6 separate regions of the Homo sapiens genome follow, and all the other regions are linked to region 1. The links are contacts of gene promoters, found by promoter capture Hi-C in human tissues and cell types (Jung and others, 2019). All regions are on one chromosome and are shown on one strand. Each heading gives the region's core, a stretch centred on a gene start or on the middle of the fragment in contact. The rest is flanking DNA. Distances are from core to core; before and after follow the strand shown. Region 1 holds the start of ASL (argininosuccinate lyase). Region 2 overlaps TYW1 (tRNA-yW synthesizing protein 1 homolog). Region 3 overlaps SBDS (SBDS ribosome maturation factor). Region 4 overlaps RABGEF1 (RAB guanine nucleotide exchange factor 1). Region 5 overlaps RABGEF1 (RAB guanine nucleotide exchange factor 1). Region 6 has its middle 23 kb from the start of KCTD7.

Region 1 (3,251 bases), core at 303-2,802:
CCCTCCCCAACGCCTGTGCTCCCTGCACACCTCCTCCATGCTATGTTGGAACTTCTTGAAGTCAGGCTTCATTTCTTTTGTTTCGTTTCTTTCTTTGTTTTCTCTTCTCTTTTTCTTTTTCTTTCTTTCTTTCTTTTTTTTTTTTTTTTTTCGAGACAAGAGTCTCACTGTCGCCCAGGCTGCAGTGCAGTGGTGCCGTCTCAGCTCACTGCAGCCTCCACCTCCCTGGTTCAAGTGATTCTCCTGCCTCAGCTGTCGGAGTAGCTGGGACTACAGGCACCCACCACCACACCCGGCTAATAGAGACAAGGTTTCACCATGTCAGCCAGGCTCATCTCGAATTCCTGACCTCAGGTGATCCGCCCGCCTCAGCCTCTCAAAGTGCTGGGATTAAAGGCGTAAGCCACTGTGCCCGGCTGCGTTTCTTTTTTCTTTTCTTTTCTTTCTTTCTTTCTTTCTTTCTTTTTTTTTTTTTTTTTTTTTTTGAGACAGAATCTTGCTCTGTCACCCAGGCTGGAGTGCAATGGCACCATCTCAGCTCACTGCAATCTCCGCCTCCCGGGTTCAAGAGATTCTCCTGCCTCAGCCTCCGGAGTCGCTGGGATTGCAGGCACCCGCCACCGTGCCCGGCTAATTTTTGTATTCTTAGTAGAGACGGGGTTTCACCACCTTGGCCAGGCTGGTCTCAAACTCCTGACCTCGTGATCCACCCGCCTCGGCCTTCCAAAGTGCTGGGATTACAGGCGTGAGCCACCGCGCCCGGCCTCCGGCCGCGTTTCTTTTCTTTTTTAGAGGAGTCAGGCTGGAGTGCCGTGGCACAATAGCTCACTGCAGCTTCGAACTCCTGGGCTCAAGTGCTCCTCCCGCCTCAGCCTCCTGAGTAGCTAGGACTGCAGGCGTGCACCACCACGCCCGGCTTTTTTTTTATTATTATTAATTTTTTTGTAGAGACGGGATCTTGTTGTATTGCCCAGGCTGGTCTCCAACTCGTAGCCTCAAGCGATCCTCCCACCTCGGCCTCCCAAAGTGCTGGGATTACAGCTGTGAGCCACCGCGCCTGGCACAGGCTTCATTTCTGATGGTCCTTCCTTTTTCCTTGATGCCTTTCTCTGTACCTGGCACATAGAGGTGCCTGGTACGTGTTTGTTGAATGAATGAATGAATGAGTGAATGAGCGAACATGCCATTTCACCTTATATATCTTGTGAACCTGCCAGGCCCGGGCCTGATGTCATAGCCTCTACCCCTGGCCCGAGTCTCCAGTCCCCTGCGTGTCTGCTGACCACAGCACGAACGCCAGCGCACTACCCTCCTCAACCCCAGCCCAGGCCCCTTCCCCGTCGGGGTCCCCCCAACCCTTTCCCCGCCCGCTTCCCCGCCCCGGGGCCGCTTAGCCTCCAGCTCAGCGGGAGGTATCCCCGCCCACGGCCAGGATTGGAGGATGGAGGCAACGCCCACCCCGCCGGGCGGCCTCCTATTGGCGCGGCCGTCGCCAGGGGTGGGGACAGGACCGGCGGCTGCTGACGCCATCCCGGCCAGAAAAGCCCTGGCCAGTGGCGGGCGCGACACTATCCGTGCGGCCAGGCGGAGGTGAGTGCGCGGCGGCCGGATGGGCGGGACGGGCGTGGAGGACGCCGAGCACCGTGGCGCGCGCTCACGTCCGCGTCCCCAAGGGCTGCGCTCCCTCAAGCGCAGTGCCCAGAACTCGGAGCCAGCCCGGCCCGGGGGACCCTGCTGGCCAAGGAGGTCGTCAGTCCGGTCTTGTCTTCCAGACCCGGAGGACCGAAGCTTCCGGACGACGAGGAACCGCCCAACATGGCCTCGGAGGTGAGTGGGACCTCGGGGACTCCGGTCCTCCTAGCCTCCAAAGGAGAGAGTGGGGGCGCCAGACCTGCCTCGGGCCACCCTGCTGGGAATCGCCCTCCAGGAAGCAATTTTGAAAATTACCTAGGAAGCCTGCACCCCCAGCCCTCCCGGGCGCATCATCTGGAGCCCAGCAGTCACCTTTACCAGGACTCACCAGTATCCGCAGGCAGCCCTTGTGGCAAACCCACCAACCCACACTACTAGGGGTAGAGTGGCTCTGCCCTCACCTCACAGTGATGCCTGCCTGGCCAGGAAAAGTGGCTCCCAAGCCTTCAGCCTTCCAACTCTTCCTTCCTTCTTACCACGTGTCCTCCTGTCAGGTCCCACCCCACACCACATCCCTTCTCCTGCTAGAGCAATTGTCCCTGTTTATAGAATAAAGCTCAGCCCCTAAGTGTTCTTGTCCTTGACTGTGGCATGTGGAAAGAGCCAGGAAAAAGGGGACGTCGCCTCGTGGCTCCAGCAACCCTGGTGCCTGGTCCCTTCCTGTCTCACTGGACCCTGCCTCTTAGGGTCAGTGGCTCCTGGCCTCTCCTCCTGACCACTGAGATGCTGGATTCCCAGGCAGAGGTTTTCCTTCCTTGGGCCATAGTTGATTTATCTGGCAATGGGGGTAATAATAGCTGTCGGCCTCACTCTGTAAGGCACTAGATTATGAGGCCATTGCTTTGGACCCTTCAGGTGAGAGGGGCTGTTCGCCTGATGCTTGATGAAGGGAACTCCGGGAAGCAGGAGGTCTGGGTTCCAGGCCCTTTTGGCCTTCATTAGCTAGCAATTCACTTCCTCTTTCTCAATGCCCTGCAAGCTCAGTGCCCTGCAAGCTTCTGGGTCATGGCAGGGGGGTAGGGCCTGGACTTTGGAGCCAAACAGACTTGGTTTCTGTACCAGTCACTTGAGCCCTTTAAACCTCTTTCCTCATTTGTGAAATAGGGGTAATATTGCCCACCTCATAAAAGGCCGTAATAACATATGTGAAATCCCTAGCACAGGGCTGAGCAACAGTAGGTGCTCAATAAATGGTGGCTAACCACAACAATACTGATATTTCTACTTTGGGAGGCCGAGGCGGGAGGACTGCTGAAGCCCAGGAATTCCAGACCAGCCAGGGCAATGTAATGAGACCCTGTCTCTACAAAAAGATTTTGAAAATTACCCAGGTGTGGTGGCGTACACCTGTAGTCTCACAGGAGGCGGAGGCATGAGGATTGCTTGAGCCCAGGAGTTTGAGACTGCAGTGAGCATGATCTCACCACTGCACTCCAGCCCAGGCAACAGAGTGAGATCCAGTTTCAAAAAAATAAAAATAAAAAAACCTGGCAGGCATGGTGGCTCACACCTGTAATCCCAGCACTTTGGGAGGTCGAGGTGGGCAGATCACCTGAGGT
Region 2 (3,251 bases), core at 295-2,794, 930 kb after region 1:
TTCCAGCATGTTAGTATTGCTAATGAGAAAGCGAATTTGTAGATGACTTGATTATTTTGTTTCTGGAAGATTTTCGGATCATTTCTTTGTCCTTGATTTCTGGAAATTTTATGGGAAGGTGACTATTTGGATCTTTTTCAGCTATTGTTCTGTATACTTGAATTTTTTTTGTTTTGACGATTTGTATGCATTTTGACGATTTGTGTGCATTAGTTCTGTTAATATTTCTTGGATGAATTTTTTTTTCCCCTTTTCATTTCTTTTTTTCTGGGATTCCTGTGGGATGTTCTACCTTTTGGATCGTCTTCTGTGTCTCAGATCTTTTCTCTTATATTTTTTGTAACTTTTTCTTTTTCTTTTTCTTTTTTCTTTTTTTTTTTTTTTGAGACAGGGTCTTACTCTGTCACCCAGGCTGGAGTGCAGTGGCATTGGCCTCCCAAAGTGCTGGGATTTTTGTATTTTTAGTGGAGACGGGGTTTCTGCATGTTGGCCAGGCTGGTCTCAAACTCCTAGCCTCAAGTGATTCACCCGCCTCGGCCACTGAAAGTGTTAGGATTACAGGCTTGAGCCACGCGCCTGGCCCTAAATTTCTGTTTCTAATCTTAACTGTTTCTCTCAACTCCAGACTTTCATATCGAGTTACCTATCTTAGAGCATCATATGAATGTCTAGTAAGCATCTTAACATCAGTGTGCTCAAAACTGAACTCCCAATTTTCTGCCCAAGCCTGCTCTACTTGTAATCCTTACAATTTCAGTAAATGACAACTTTATCCTTCCAATTGCTTGGTCCAAAACACCTTTTGACTTCTTTTTATACAACCCATGTCCAGTCTGTCAGCAGATTCTGTTTGTTCTACTTTAAGAATAGATTCAGTTTCCAATCACTTCTTACCACCTTCACTGCTACTCCCCTGGTCCATGCCATTGTCAACCTAAATACCATAGAGAGGCTCTCCAAAAGAAAAGATGTTTGTTTGGGAATAGCACGTACATTGCAATGGGGATACAATTGCCATAGTAAACTGCATGTATTCAGGGAAGTAAAGGAAGGCAAAGATTTGTAAGGGAAAAAATGAGGATTACAGAATTGTTTTGAAATAATTATTCTTGCCTACAAAGGTTAATAACAAAGGTGACACAATCCAAGGTTGGACATGAAGTTGCTGGGCAGATGTCCTTGCAGTAGTATTTTTTGTGTAAGGTTGCACTGGTCTTTGTGCAAGGTTGTATTTTTTGTAGAATCTTTCTCATTGTCAGGAATTTGAGTGTGAGGCCAGGTGTGGTGGCTCATGCCTGTAATCCCAGCAGTTTAGGAGGCTGAGGCAGGTGGGTCACTTGAGGTCAGGAGTTTGAGATTAGCCTGGCCAACATGGCAAAACCCCATTTGTACTAAAAAATACAAAAATTAGCCTGGTGTGGTGGCACATGCCTGTAATCCCAGCTACACGGGAGGCTAAGGCATGAGAATCACTTGAACCCGGGAGGCAGAGGTTGCAGTGAGCCAAGATGGCGCCACTGCACTCCAGTCTGGGGGACAGAGTGAAACCTTGTCTCAAAAAAAACAAAAAACAAAAAACAAAAAAAACAATCTAAGTGTGCGAATTCTTTGTCTTCCCTAGCTCTTATTGTCAGGGATATTTTAACATAAGTAACTCCATGTTGTTGATTCTGACAGCTTTGACACTGCCATGATATTTTGTCTGGATTAGGACAGTCATCTCACCATTGATTTCTGCTATAATTTGTTGTTTGTTCCCCCAAAACTGATGTTGAAATTTGATCCCTCGTGTTGGTGATGGGCCTAATGGGAGGTGTTTGGGTCCTGGGGGCAGATCCCTCCTGAATAGATGAATCCCTGGGGGAGGGGTGAGTGAGTTCTTGCTGTCTTAGTTCCCAAGAGAGCTTGTTGGTAAGAAGAGCCTGGAACCTCTCCTGCACTCTTGTTTCCTCTCTTGCTATGTGATCTTTGTGCTCGCCAGCTCCCTTTCACTTCTACTCTGCCAGGAGTAGAAGCAGCCTGGAGCCCTCACCAGATGTAGTTGTCCAATCTTGAACTTTTTCAGATATCAGAATTGTGAACCAAATAAACCTTTTTATGGTGGCCCATAACAATTTTTCCTTTACATAGTTAGCACTTCCTTAAGGACCTCTTGTAAGGCAGGTCTGGTTGTAATAAATTCCCTTAGCATTTGTTTGCCTGAAAGGATCTTGTTTCTCCTTCGCTTATGAAGCTTAATTTGGCTGGATATGAAATTCTTGGTTGAAATTTCTTGTTTTCTTTTTTGAGACAGAGTCTTTCTCTGTCACCCAGGCTGGAGTGCAGTGGTGCGATCTCAGCTCACTGCAACCTTTGCCTCCCGAGTTCAAGTGATTCTCCTGCCTCAGCCTCCCGAGTAGCTGGGACTACAGGTGTGCGCCACCACATCTGGCTGATTTTTGCATTTTTAGTAGAGATGGGGTTTCACCATGTTGGTCAGGCTGGTCTCCAACTCCTGACCTCAGGTGATCCACCCATCTTGGCCTCCCAAAGTGCTGGGATTACAGATGTGAGCCACCATGCCCTGCTTGAAATTTCTTTTCTTTAAGAATGCTCAATATAGGCCCCAATCTCTTCTGGATTGTAGGGTTTCTGCTGAAAGGTCCACTGTTACCCTGATGGGATTCCCTATGTAGCTGACCTGCCCCTTCTCTCTAGCTGCCTTTAACATTTTTTCTTTCATTTCGACTGGAGAATCTGATGATTTTGTGTCTTGGGGATGGCCATCTTACGTAATATCTCACTGGGGTTCTCTGCATTAAATAAACCTTTTTAAAACATAGATTGGGCTAGGCACAGTGGCTCACGCCTATAATCCCAGCACTTTGGGAGGCCAAGGCAGGTGGATCACTTGAGACCAGGAGTTTGAGACCAACCTGTGCAACATGGCAAAACTCTATCTCTACAAAAAATTCAAAAATTAGCCAGGCATGGTGGCATGTGCCTGTAGTCCTAGCTACTTGGGCGGCTGAGGTGGGACGATTGCTTGAGCCCAGGAGGTCAAGGCTGCAGTAAGCCGTGACTGTGCCACTGCACTTCAGCCTGGGTGACAGAGTGAGACCTTGTCTCAAAAAAATAAAAGACATAGATTACCCAGTCTCAGGTACTCCTTTATAGCAAAATGGACTAAGACAGTGTTTCTGATTCAGTACCACTTGGCCCTCTTCTGACTCCAGTGTACTCTCAACTCAGCAACCTCAGTGACTGTTTGA
Region 3 (3,251 bases), core at 246-2,745, 910 kb after region 1:
TCCTGCCTCAGCCTCCCGAGTAGCTGGGACTACAGACACGTGCCACCACTCCCGGCTAATTTTTTGTATTTTTAGTAGAGACGGGGTTTCACCGTGTTAGCCAGGATGGTCTCCATCTCCTGACATCGTGATCCGGCAGCCTTGGCCTCCCCAAGTGTTGAGATTACAGGTGTAAGCCAGTATCTGATAGTTTTATGTTTACATTTAGTTCTGATATAAAATATATTTTTTTTGAGATGGAGTTTTGCTCTTGTCACCCAGGCTGGAGTGTAGTGGCAGAATCTTGGCTCACTGCAACCTCTGCCTCCTAGGTTCAAGAGATTCTCTAGCCTCAGCCTCTTGAGCAGCTGGGATTACAGGCGGCCGCCACCATGCCCAGCTAATTTCTTTTTTTTTTTGAGTCAGCGTCTCGCTCTGTCACCCAGGCTGGAGTGCAGTGGCTCACTGCAACCTCTGCCTACCAGGTTCAAGTGATTCTCCTGCCTCAGCCTCCTGAGTAGCTGGGACTAGAGGCATGCGCCACCGTGCCCAGCTAATTTTTGTATTTTTAGTAGAGACAGGGTTTCAGCATGTTGGCCAGGATGGTCTCGATCTCTTGACCTCGTGATCTGCCTGCCTTGGCCTCCCAAAGTCTTGGTATTACAGGCGTGAGCAACCACAGCCAGCTAATTTTTGTATTTTTAATAGAGACTGGGTTTCGTCATTTTGGCCAGGCTGGTCTTGAACTCCTGACCTCAGGTGATCTGCCCACCTGGGCCTCCCAAAGTGCTGGGATTACAGGCATGAGCCACTGTGCCTGGTCCACGTGTTTATTATTTCAGACATTTACTCCACATCTGCTAGGTCCAAAGCATGGTGGGATATACACACACATTGCTAAGTCCCTTGCCCTTAAGGAGCTCACAGTCTAGCCTGAAGGCAGATAATTAAGCAGCTCTAATACAAGTTTGAATAAATCCAGACCCATGAAGGAATTTAAGTAGAGTACTGGCTTCCAGCAACTGGAGCAAATACTTGTGTATGGGGTACAAGGGAAGCTTCAGAGAAAAGAACTGTGGTAAAAGAAGAGGCCTAAGTCTGAAATGTCATTGTGACCAAATGCACACACCATCAGCTTGCATTGAAAAAGTCAAACCAATCCTTAAAATAATCCATTATGGCTGTGGTACTGGGAAGATGATCATGAACCAAAAAATGTTAAGTTCTTTGATAATGAAATTAGTATAAAATTAAAAAAATAAGTTTAGATGATGACTCAGATGTGATCCACATTTGACATTTCTTGAAGTTCCAGCTTTTTAGAAAAAATGAATATTCAGAATCAGAAAATCTTTGTTTTGAGATGGGGTCTGGCTCTGTTGTCCAGGCTGGAGTGCAGTGGGGTGATTTTAGCTCACTGCAACCTCCGCCTCCCGGGCTCAAGTGATCCTCCTGCCTCAGCCTCCCAAGTAGTTGGGAAAACAGGTGCACACCACCATGCCTAATTTTTTGTATTTTTGTAGAGACGGGGTTTCACTGTGTTGCCCAGGCTGGTCTCAAACTCCCAAGCTCAAGTGATTCACCCGCCTTGGCCTCCCAAAGTGCTGGGATTACCGGTGGGAGCCACTGCGCCTGGCCCCAGAAAATCTTAAGGAAATGTTCTATTAAATGTTTATATTTTTTTACTAAGATAGAACTATTGATATATTGAACAAATAGCTGTATCAAAACAGCAGCCTAGCTTTAGCATTAACAGAAAAAGTGTTCATTCCCATGTTATCAATGTATTTTGTTAACAATATAAGAAAAAATTTTGACTTTATAACCTCAATGTTAGTTATTTTAAACTAAAGGGACATTTCTGAGAGCTTGTATTAGCAGGGAGTTGTGTGTGCTTATAAACCAATCAGTACCTTTTCAAGTCAAGAAGCCTGTCTTCAGTTAAAAACTGCTGTCCAGAAATACATCTGTATGTTTATTTTGAGTGAATTTAATTTATATTCTAGAATGTATCTTTTGAAATAGATTTTTTTTCTTTTTTTTGGAGACCGAGTTTCACTCTGTCACCTAGACTGGAGTGCAGTGGCACATTCTCAGCTCATTGCAACCTCTGCCTCCTGGGTTCAAGTGATTCTCCTGCTTCAGCCTCCCGAGTAGCTGGGACTACAGGCGTGCACCACCATGCCTGGCTAATTTTTGTATTTTTAGTAGAGACAGGGTTTCACCATGTGGGTCAGGCTGGTCTCAAACTCCTGACCTCAGGTGATCCGCCTGCCTCGGCCTCCCAAAGTGTTGGGATTGCAGGTGTGAGTCACCTCCCCTGGCCTTGAAGTAGATTTTTAAAAGCTTGCATCTTGTCCATTTAAGTGTTTAAATACTAAAATAATTCTTCCCAATTACATCCCAAGTGTTAGCAAAAATTTTTCAGGTGTTTACAAGTACAGGCCCTGTTCTAAGCACTCTTCATATGGACTTATTCAGTTCTCCTGACAACTCCCTAACCCTACCACAGACACAGGCAGAGAAAAGAAAGGGAGTTAGGAAGTTGTCTAGAAACACAAGCCATAGTTTAATAAACATAAGAGTGGTTTTATTGATTACATACAATTTTAGCTATATTAATATATATTATAAACTTTAAGAATTAGAAATAAGTGACTTTTATTTTTTAACCAAGAATAATCTAAGTTATGGCAGCATGTTCAATGAAAGGTAAGTCCGGCACAATTTTTCTATATCTGTTTCTCAGATAATCAGGAACATCATCCAAGCTTTACATTACGATACCATAATGACCCTCAGAACACAAGTTCCATTAAGTAGAAATGAAGCATCATATGTTTTCTTTTTTAGGAAAGACCCCCCCTTTTGTTGTATAGACATACCCCTAATAATCTTACTCTACTGTACAAATAACTTTTCACCCACAAGAGCTGCCTCAAGTAACTTTCATTTTGGAAAGCTATCAAGGCATGAGACAGAGTAGCAAAATGCCACTCTGGACTTTGCATCTTGGAGTTTCAATTTTGCTTTAGGATTTAGACCCCAGTTTATAATTAAAACCAAATCATTCCCACATTATTATACTTATGTAGGAAAGCCTTGCTGTGTCCACTGTTAACACAAAGATAGAAAATGTCAAATAGTTTAAGCAAGTATTTGGCAGACCACAGACATGAAACAGTGCCGTCGGAAACGGAAACACTTTAGTGTTTTAGAGGTGAAGAGATTGATGGGTGTCATTCAAATTTCTCATCTCCTTCTTCTACATC
Region 4 (3,251 bases), core at 477-2,976, 710 kb after region 1:
GATAATTGTTCCTACTGCATCCCACAGTATTATTCTTTCTAAAATTTCTGAGATCCAGGAGAGTGATCTGCTCTTGCCCACATCTTTCCCACATCATTTCTGTTTTCTCCAAGCCCTGTATATGCCGGTGGTGAGCAGCCTTTTCAGCATATGGGTCAAGTCTAGAAAATTAAATCTTTTCCGAACTGCATTAAAATTTTTAAGCCATTTTATCTTTATCAAGAAACACCTTGTCTACACTAAGATGTTTTTTGTTTTTAGAATTTAAATTTCAGCACCTACGTAATTTTCATACCCACTGCAGTATGGCAGTATAATGCTTTACTATGCAACACACTTCTCTTTCTTTCCTTTCCTTTCCTTTTCTTTCTTTTTTTGAAGCAGTGTGTTGCTCTATCTCCTGGACTGGAGCACAATAGCGCAGTTGCTGCTCACTGCAGACTTGACCTCCCAGACTCAAGTGATCCTCCTGCCTTAGTCTCCTGAGTAGCTGGGACTAGTGGCACACACCACCATGTCTGGCTGAGTTTTTTATTTTTTGTAGAGACAGGGTTTCCCTATGTTGCCCAGGCTGGTCTTGAATTCCTGACCTCAGGTGATCTTCCCAACTTGGCCTCCCAAAGAGCTGGGATTATAGGTGTGAGCCACCGCGCCCAGTGCTATTCAGCAAATGTTGTTTGCTAATATTTTTCTGAAGCTTGTTTATTTTGCTCTTTTTTCTTTCTTGCTAGTCTTACTAGCCACTTAATGTTAAAACATGTATACTCTTACAGTACTTCTATACATTCTTTAAAACAAGATATTTCCATTGCAAATGAGACGGGCAGCTATGTCATTAACACAAAATCCTTTTATGTTGAAAATATAGTTGCCATCAGCTACTTTTCTGTTCTTACAAATCATCATAGCAAGAATTTAAATTGCTGAGCCAAATTAATAAAGCTTAATTTTTAAAACCTAATCTGTACAACATAACTTGAATTATTATTATTTCTTTTTGAGATAGGAGTCTTGCTCTGTTGGCCAGGCTGGAGTGCAGTGGTGTGATCTCTGCTCATTGCAGCCTTTACCTTCCAGGTTCCAGTGATCGTCCTCCCTCAGCCTCTCGAGTAGCTGGGATTACATGCATGTGCCACCATGCCCAGATAATTTTTACTTTTTTTTTTTTTTGTAGACACAGGATTTCACTATGTTGGCCAAGCTAGTCTTGAACTCCTGACCTCAAGTGGTCTGCCCGCCTTGGCCTCCCAAAATCTTGGGGTTACAGAAGTGAGCCACCATGCCTGGCCTGATTTTTTTTTTTTTTTTTTTTTTTTTAAGATAGAGTCTTGCTCTGTTGCCCAGGCTGTAGTGCAGTGGCGTGATTTCGGCTCACCCCAACCTCTGCCTCCCAGGTTCAAGCAATTTTTATGCCCCAGCCTCCCGCATAGCTGAGATTACAGGTGTGCACCACCATGCCGAGCTAATTTTTTGTATGTTTAGTAGAGATGGGGTGTTACTCTGTTAGCCAGGCTGGTCATGAACTCCTAGCCTCACATGATCCGCCCACCTTGGCCTCCCAATGTGCCGGGATTACAGGATTGAGCCACAATACCTGGCCTAACTTGAATTTAAGAATCTCACCTTAACCAAGCTTCACACAGGTCTGAGAGTGATTATGGATTCAGGAGTATATATAGTCACTTATGAAGAGGTATACATTCTCTTTGTCATCTGGACAGAGCTTCATGTGGTGAGGGCAATTTTAAGGCACTGTATAGACCCAATCAAGTGTTAACCTTTCCCATAATAACTAGAAAACCATATTACCTAACTGAATGAGATCTGTGGCTTTGTAAATAACTTTTTTCTGTAAATTATTTATATGAAAACGCTCACTGTAAGACACATGTTTAGACTGCAATTAAATAAAAGTAAATAAAACTTCTGGAAAAACTCTTTTGCTGCTCAAACTATTTAAATCCTGCCCTTGCTAAGTGTTAATAAATCCCTCAGATACATTTTTTCCCTATTCTGAAAGTGTAGCTTGTCCTGCTTTTAAAGGGGGCAGGCTCTACTTCCTCAAAGTACCTACCCTTTAATTTGTTGGGTATTGCAGTAGTGCTTTTTAATAAACTTGGGGCTGGGCGAGGTTGCTCACACCTGTAATCCCAGCACTTTGGGAGGCTGAGGTGGGTGGATCACGAGGTCAGGATTTCGAGACCAGCCTGGCCAATATGGTGAAACCCTGTCTCTACTAAAAATACAAAAATTAGCTGGGCATGGTGGCGCTCGCCTGTAGTCCCAGCTACTCGGGAGGCTGAGGGAGAAGAATCACTTGAACCCAAAAGGTGGGGTTGCAGTGAGCTGAGATCATGCCACTGCACTCCAGCCTGGGCAACAGAGCAAGACTCCATCTCAAAAAAAAACAAAAAACAAAACAAAACAAAACACCCCTCATTTTTTGGGTTTCTCAATTCAGTTATTTTTATTTTTTTAATTTGTATTAGTCCCTTAATACTCCATTCATGGCAATCAATTCAGTTTCTAAAAGACTTCTTAATAGTCATTCTGATAAGCTCTTCTTTCTAAGGAAGCAGTTAAGCACAACATAACACCTTTTGCTTGTTTCATTGTTATTTTTCTAGCCAGTCCTATAAAAATCTGATACTGAGCTGGGCACAGTGGCTCACGCTTGTAATCCTAGCACTTTGGGAAGCCAATGCGGGTGGATCACCTGGCCAACATAGTGAAATCCCGTCTCTACTAAAAATACAAAAAATTAGCTGGGCGTGGTGGCGGGTGCCTGTAATCCCAGCTACTAGGGAGGCTGAGGCAGGAGAATCACTTGAACCTGGGAGGCCAAGGTTGCAGTTAGCCAAGGTCGCGCCATTGTACTCCAGCCTGGGCAACAAGAGCAAAAAAACTCTGTCTCAAAAAAAAATAATAATAATAATCTGATACTGATTATATTATATGGACTTAAAGCTTTGTACCTGAATGAGGACAAAAAAATACACAGTTTAAGACATGGTTATATCTTCAGTCCCATGTTCTTTCCCAGAACAAGTAGAAAGATAAGTGTCCTCCTATACCTTAAAATGACTCTATTGTTGTAAACTATATATTTAATCAAGGAGTAGTTTGCCCTGCCACGTAATTTACTGTCAGAAGAACAGAAGTATGTACCCAAAACAAAGAACCTTTAACTAGCAAATAGGCTTTAATTATTGTGAGAACTTCAGCAGGGGTAGCAACCCAGGACCTAATTT
Region 5 (3,251 bases), core at 269-2,768, 690 kb after region 1:
GCAGAGCTGGGGTTGGAGTGCAGATAGGACTGATCTCTGTGATTTCATGGTCCACACCAAATCAGTCTTCTTAGACTCAGAGCTATTGTTATTGTTTCTGTCTAATACATAGTGAGCTTTTATTGTATGCCAAGTAATCCACAGAGCACTCCTTTATGTTTTTCTAGCTCTTAAAGAGCATCTGTACAAGTCTTTTGGCATAGATAATAGGCTCTACTGGAACCAGCTTAAGAAAAAACGACAAAAGTAGTTAGGGGACCAGGGTGTATGACTCAGAATCTGAGGATGGGCGTGCACGTAAACCTTAGCCAGGGATTGGAACTGGGAGATTGAAATCATTCAGGACGTACAGGACCTTCTACTTTTCTCTGCTTCTTGGGGTATGTCTATTTCATTCTGTAGACTGTCCTGATACTCAGACCACTTGATAGAAGGATCATGTCACACAGCTCCATCATTCAAGAGAACAGCCCCGACTTAGTCCCATTTCCAAAACTCGAAGCAAAAGACTCTAACACAGTTGGAGGCAATCAGCTGTGATCCTGAATTGGGGGACCATTCACCTTATACAAATATAGCTGCTGCCAGCTTATCTTTGTGGATTGAGAGGACAGTTTCCTGATAACATGGGAGGTTATGTGCTAGGCAGACTTCCCAAACTATGTTCATTTTAGTAACATTGAGTAGTACTATCATACTTATAGTACAAAATTTAAAAAAACTTAATTGATCTATACTTAAAAATAGGTATCTTCCTTTTGCCCATTTCTCTTGGAAGGGAAGAAAAGGGACATCAGGATGATAATGGCAAGATTAGCTCAGACTTTCAAAATAATTTGAAACCCAGGACTTGGCATACTAAGTATAGGCTTACTTGAGCTCAGGAGTTCAAGACCACCTGGGTAACGTGGCGAAACACCGCCTCTACAAAAAAATAACAACAATTAGCCAGGCATGGTGGCTGAGTGGTGGAGTATTGCTTGAGCTCGGGAAGTCAAGGCTGCAGTGAGCTGTGATCACGCCACTGCACTCTAGCCTGAATGACAGACCCTGTCTTCCAAAAAAAAAAAAAAAGGAAGCTTAGTGCTTAGTGATGTCTCTGCCACTTACTACCTTTTTGATGGAATAAGTCATGATTTCTTAATGTTAGTATCTTTATCTCTTACTATAGGATGTAGTAGATGGTCTTTAAAAACATTCTAGGACTCTATTCTTTTCTTTTTTTCTACTTGTTATTTTCTTGCTTTCTACCTCAGCCTTATCTACTATTTATAAATGGCTGGTGTCTTAGATCTAAATCCTGACCTTGGAGGGCTTTAACCTTGTAGAGGAAGTAAACAGTAAACTTGAGAGTTTTTTCTAATTAGATTTCCCTCTCTCTGTCAAGTCTCATTAAATAACTATTAAAGATCTGATCTCTAAGGTAGATTACCACCCGTCGTCTTTCCATTCCCACTGTTACCTCTTATTTATTTATTTATTTATTTATTTATTTTCGAGACAGGGTTTCACTCTGTTGCGCAGGCTGGAGTGCAGTGGTGCGATCTCGGCTTACTGCAGCCTCTGCCTCCCAGGTCCAAGCGATTCTTGTGCCTCAGCCTCCTGAGTACCTGGGATTACAGGCAAGCGCCACCATGCCTGGCTACCCACTGTGTTACCTCAAGTCCTCTAATTGTAGTTGTCTCTTGGTCAGTATCTGTGTCTTCTGTTCTGTACTTCTCCCTAATCCAACCTGGAAATTGCCTGTCAAGTTTCTTTTTTTTTTTTTTTTTTTTGAGATGGCGTCTCCCTCTGTTGCCCAGGCTGGAGTGCAATGGCATGATCTTGGCTCACTGCAACCTCCATCTCCCCGGTTCATGCGATTCTTGTGTCTCAGCCTCCCAAGTAGCTGGGATTACAGACGTCTGCCACCATGCTCAGCTAATTTTTGTATGTTTAATAGAGACGAGGTTTTGCCATGTTGGCCAGGCTGGTCTCAAACTCCTGCCCTCAGGTGATCCACCCGCCTCAGCCTCCCAAAGTGCTGGGATTATAGGTGTGAGCCACTGTGCCCAGCCGAGGTTTTTTTTTTGTTTAAATCATAGAGTAAAATTGATCTGGGAGGAGTATAATGGTCTGCGAATTTTTAAATTTTATTAGATTTATGTAAACACCTCCACAATCAGAATACAGAACAGTTTCATCACCCCAAAAAACTTTCTCGTGCTAATCCTTTATAGTCACATTCTTTCCTACCCCTAGTTCCTAAATGGAATCATATAGTATGTAAACTTTTAAGATGGCTGCTATGGTCTGAATCTTTGTCTGTCCCCCAAATTCATATGTTGAAATTCTAAACCACAAGGTGTTGCTACTAGGAGGTGGAGCCTTTGGGAGGTGATTAGTTCATGAAAGTGGAGACCTCATGACTGGGGCTTGTAAGTGCCCTTATAAGAGACTGCAGAGAGCCTAGCCTGTCTCCCCCTCCCACCATGTGAGGACACAGGGAGAAGGTATCTTCATTGAACCACCAGACACCAACATCTGTTGACTTCCTGATCTTGAACTTGCCAGCTTCCTGCACTGTGAGAAATAAATTTCTGTTTTTTATAACCTACCCAGTTTATGGTATTTTGTTACTGCAGCCAGAAGGAACTAAGATGCTGGCTTCTATCAGCATAAAGCCTTTGAGATTCATCAAAGTTGTTGGGTGTACTGATACCTGTTGTTGTTGTTTTCCTGAGTAGCATTCTGTTGTATGGGTGCACCATAGTTTGTTTATTCATTCACCCATTGAAGGATATTTTAGTTGTCATTTTTTGTCATCACAAATATTGCTACTATAACCGTTTGCGTATAGAATTTTGTAAATAGCAATTTTTATTTCTCTAGAGGAAATACCCAGGAGAGGGATTGCAAGCAAACGTTTCAAACCTTTGATGTGAAGGGAGACATTATATTTACTGTACTGGACAGTTAACAAATTGTCTTCTGCTGTGGAAGGAGCTGTCGTCTTTCTCTTGTAAGGATGTTCAATATACAAACATCCTTGACTGCACAGTATGTAGCAAAGGCCTCTCATGGAAATGTGGGACACCAGTGTATATATCTTCTTTGTTAAAGTGTCTGTTGAGGTTTTTTGCTCATTTTTAAATTGGGTGGTTTGTTTTCTGACATCTGAGTTTTGAGAGTTCTTTATACATTCTGGGTATGTAAGTTCTTTGCCAAATATGTGATTTGCTGCAAGTAGTTTCTCCCATTCTGTAGCTTGT
Region 6 (3,251 bases), core at 278-2,777, 580 kb after region 1:
GGAATGGCTGGACCACACCACTGTTGGCTAGAAATGGCCGAGGAGTAATTGTGAACTTTATAGTGAACTTGAGTCCAAGCTGCTATTTAACTGTCCAAAAAATGAACAAGCATCATGAGCTGAAATAGAATGTAAAGAAAAATAAGAGGCAGAAATCAGACTTTTATTTCTTCTAGTTTAGGCTCCAAAGCTTGAGAGAAGTAATACAGAGGGCTTGATTTTTAGAAAACCTTAGAAATGATTAAATAGGTCAGGCGCGGTGGCTCCGGCCTGTAATCCCAGCACTTTGGGAGGCTGAGGTGGGCGGATCAAGAGGTCAGGAGTTCAAGAGCAGCCTGGCCAACATGGTGAAACTCCATCTTTACTAAAAATACAAAAATTAGCCGGGCATGGTGGCACATGCCTGTAATCCCAGCTACTCGGGAGGCTGACGCAGGAGAATCGCTTGAACCCAGGAGGCAGAGCCTGCACAACTGCATTCCAGCCTGGTGATACAGCAAGACTCCATCTCCAAAAAAAAAAAATAATAATAATAATAATAATGCTTAAATAGATATGATCATATTCAGAGCTAAATTTAACCAGAATCTAACATTGTTTTCCAGATGAAGAGTTTGAGAAAGCCGACTAACTAGCCCAGTTGAGTCCCTAGGCTAGTGGGTAGCAGAGTGGGGACGTGTCTGTGTCCCGAGCCTCGGCATGTCCCTGTGCTGAAGCCCAGGGCCTGGTTCTGCACTGTCAGGTTACCCAGATCCAGTTACAGAAAAGAAGCCAAAACAACTTGCGGAAAATAAGTCTACAGAAAAGATAAATAATAGTACTCTAATGAATGAACAGACTTGTGACATCTCTTCCCTGGGGACAGAACAGGAGGATACAGGTTTATATCCCAGCAATAGGGATTCTACATTACAAGGAAAGTTTCTAACTGGGAGATATGAGATGAGCTACACAAGAAGAAGCCAAAACATTTGCACTCGTGCTGCCTTTTTATTTTTTTGAGATGGGAGTTTCACTCTTGTCACCCAGGCTGGAGTGCAATGGCGCAATCTCAGCTCACCGCAACCTCTGCCTCCCGTGTTCAAGCGATTCTCCTCTCTCAGCCTCCTGAATAGCTGGGATTACAGGTGTGCACTACCATGCCCAGCTAATTTTTGTATTTTTAGTAGAGATGGGGTTTCACCATTTGGCCAGAGCTGGTCTCGAACTCCTGACCTCAGGTGATCCATCCACCTCGGCCTCCCAAAGTGCTGGGATTACAGGCATGAGCCACCCGCCCTGGTGCTGGATTTTTGCTTAGTCCTATCATTTTCTGAGTCCCGAGAGTTTTCATATTTGGATGAGTGACCAGTCTCAAAGTCATTTAAGTCCTGCCTAACCTCCAGGACTGTCTGGCATCTTCCTTCTCTTCTTCCTTCCCAGGTGGCTTCACCCTCACAGTCCCTTATGGTGTCAACTTGGTGCCATCTTACCAGGTTCTCCCTAGGCTCCCAAACCCTCGCTCCTGCCTGCTTATTCTATATCACCATGTTATTTATTTTTTAAGTAACTATGATTATGTTATAGGCTTAATTGTGATCCCCACCAAATTTATATGTTGAAGTCCTAACTCCAATACCTCAGAATGTGACTGTATTTAGGAATAGGGTCTCTAAAGAGGTGAGTTAAGATGATGCCATTAGGGTGGGCCCTAGTCCAATTCGACTGGTGACTTTATAAAAAGAGGAAATTTGGACACACACACAGACACCAAGAATGCATGTTCACAGAGAAAAGGCCATGTGAGGACACAGTGAAAAGGTGACCATTTATAAGCCAAGGAGAGAGGCCTCAGGAGAAACCAAACCTGCCAATTCTGTGATCTGATTTTGGATTTCTTTTGGTTTTTCATGCCTGAGTTTTGTATTTTTTGTAGAGACGGGGTTTTGCCATGTTGGCCAGGCCAGTCTGGAACTCCTGACCTCAGGTGATCCATCTGCCTTGGCCTTCCAAGGTGCTGAGATTACGGGTGTGAGCCACTGCGCCCAGCCCTTAACTTGGATTTCTAGACTCCATAACCAAGAGAAATAAATTTCTGTTGTTTAAGCACCACCCCCCCACCCAAAAAAAAAGAGAAGAAGAATATAGGCCATGAGCGGTGGCATGTGCCTGCAGTCCAAGCTACTCAGGCAGTTGAGGTGGTAGGATCACCTGAGCCCAGGAGAGATTGGTAGAATGATTTAATGAAAAGGTGGATGACAGAGCCTTGGGAAATGTAAAAAAAATAAGTAAAATAAAATACAACATGATCCATCCATATACTGTCTATAAGAGACTCACTTTAGATACAAAGAAACAAAGAGATTGAAAACAAAAGAATGAAAAAATAAATTCCATGCAAAAAGTAACCAAATGAGGCTGGGCTTGGTGGCTCATGCCTGGGATGCTGAGACAGGTGGATCACCTGAGGTCAGGAGTTTGAGACCAGCCTGACAACATGGAGGAACCCCGTCTGTACTAAAAATACAAAATTGGCGGGGCGCAGTGGCTCACGCCTGTAATCCCACCACTTTGGGAGGCCGAGGCGGGCGGATCACAAGGTCAGGAGATCGAGACCATCCTGGCTAACACGGTGAAACCCCGTCTCTACTAAAAATACAAAAATTAGCCAGGCGTGGTGGCGGGCACCTGTAATCCTAACACTTTGGGACGCCAAGGGGGGCGGATCAGTTGAGGTCAGAATTCGAAACCAGCCTGGCCATCACGGTGAAACCCTGTCTCGATTAAAAATACAAGAAAATTAGCTGGGCGTGGTGGTGGGCGCCTGCAATTCCAGCTACTTGGGAGGCTGAGGTGGGAGAATCCCTTCAACCTAGGAGGCAATGATCCGAGATCGCACCACTGCACTCTAGTATGGGCCACAAAGCGAGACTCCCCCACCAAAAAAAGACAAAAATTAGGCAACCTGTCCAAAAACACAGCAGCGATAATTAGCAAAGCTGGGATTCCAACCCAGGCCTATCTCACAGCCACAGCATAGTATTTTCTTTTTTTTCTTGCTGTGACTGCACCTTACGCCATAGATGGCATCCAGGACGCAGAGCAGTCAGTATTTAGGTACTGTTTTTCACATTCCTTACATGGGAATCACGTCAACAGGATTCAATTTGTGACTCAACCATTAATACTTTGTGACACTGGCTAATTTATTGCACTTCTGGGTCTCGGTTATGCTTTTTGTGGGGGGAGGGGAGGGCAGGGTCTCGCTCTGC

The links. Contacts are between HindIII fragments. The study calls those that stand out against the background at their distance.
Region 2: a fragment that was not itself captured here is called in contact with the fragment with the promoter of ASL in region 1 in 1 of the 25 tissues and cell types used here (mesenchymal stem cells).
Region 3: a fragment that was not itself captured here is called in contact with the fragment with the promoter of ASL in region 1 in 1 of the 25 tissues and cell types used here (pancreas).
Region 4: a fragment that was not itself captured here is called in contact with the fragment with the promoter of ASL in region 1 in 3 of the 25 tissues and cell types used here (heart left ventricle, hippocampus and mesenchymal stem cells).
Region 5: a contact is called between a fragment that was not itself captured here and the fragment with the promoter of ASL in region 1, in 1 of the 25 tissues and cell types used here (aorta).
Region 6: a fragment that was not itself captured here is called in contact with the fragment with the promoter of ASL in region 1 in 1 of the 25 tissues and cell types used here (dorsolateral prefrontal cortex).

The regions. Positions count from the first base shown.
Region 1 is chr7:66,074,267-66,077,517 of GRCh38, forward strand. ASL (argininosuccinate lyase) reads left to right here and starts at 1,553. Exons shown (of 17, transcript NM_000048.4): 1 at 1,553-1,590; 2 at 1,773-1,827. The coding sequence starts at 1,816. RefSeq lists a silencer at 1,194-1,723 and an enhancer at 1,824-2,103. The HindIII fragment of the contact is 4,995 bases long and covers 1-2,237 here.
Region 2 is chr7:67,002,488-67,005,738 of GRCh38, forward strand. The region is part of intron 3 of TYW1 (tRNA-yW synthesizing protein 1 homolog); the gene reads left to right. Among named protein-coding and RNA genes, the nearest start is that of TYW1, 7.3 kb to the left of the region's middle. The HindIII fragment of the contact is 3,526 bases long and covers 1-3,251 here.
Region 3 is chr7:66,985,153-66,988,403 of GRCh38, forward strand. It overlaps SBDS (SBDS ribosome maturation factor), which reads right to left. Exons shown (of 5, transcript NM_016038.4): 5 at 2,528-3,251. The coding sequence ends at 3,219. Among named protein-coding and RNA genes, the nearest start is that of SBDS, 8.8 kb to the right of the region's middle. The HindIII fragment of the contact is 6,084 bases long and covers 1-3,251 here.
Region 4 is chr7:66,786,045-66,789,295 of GRCh38, forward strand. The region is part of intron 4 of RABGEF1 (RAB guanine nucleotide exchange factor 1); the gene reads left to right. Among named protein-coding and RNA genes, the nearest start is that of RABGEF1, 47 kb to the left of the region's middle. The HindIII fragment of the contact is 4,062 bases long and covers 1-3,251 here.
Region 5 is chr7:66,765,246-66,768,496 of GRCh38, forward strand. All of the region lies in intron 1 of RABGEF1 (RAB guanine nucleotide exchange factor 1), which reads left to right. Among named protein-coding and RNA genes, the nearest start is that of RABGEF1, 26 kb to the left of the region's middle. The HindIII fragment of the contact is 4,344 bases long and covers 1-3,251 here.
Region 6 is chr7:66,650,284-66,653,534 of GRCh38, forward strand. No RefSeq gene overlaps it. Among named protein-coding and RNA genes, the nearest start is that of KCTD7, 23 kb to the left of the region's middle. The HindIII fragment of the contact is 3,311 bases long and covers 1-3,183 here.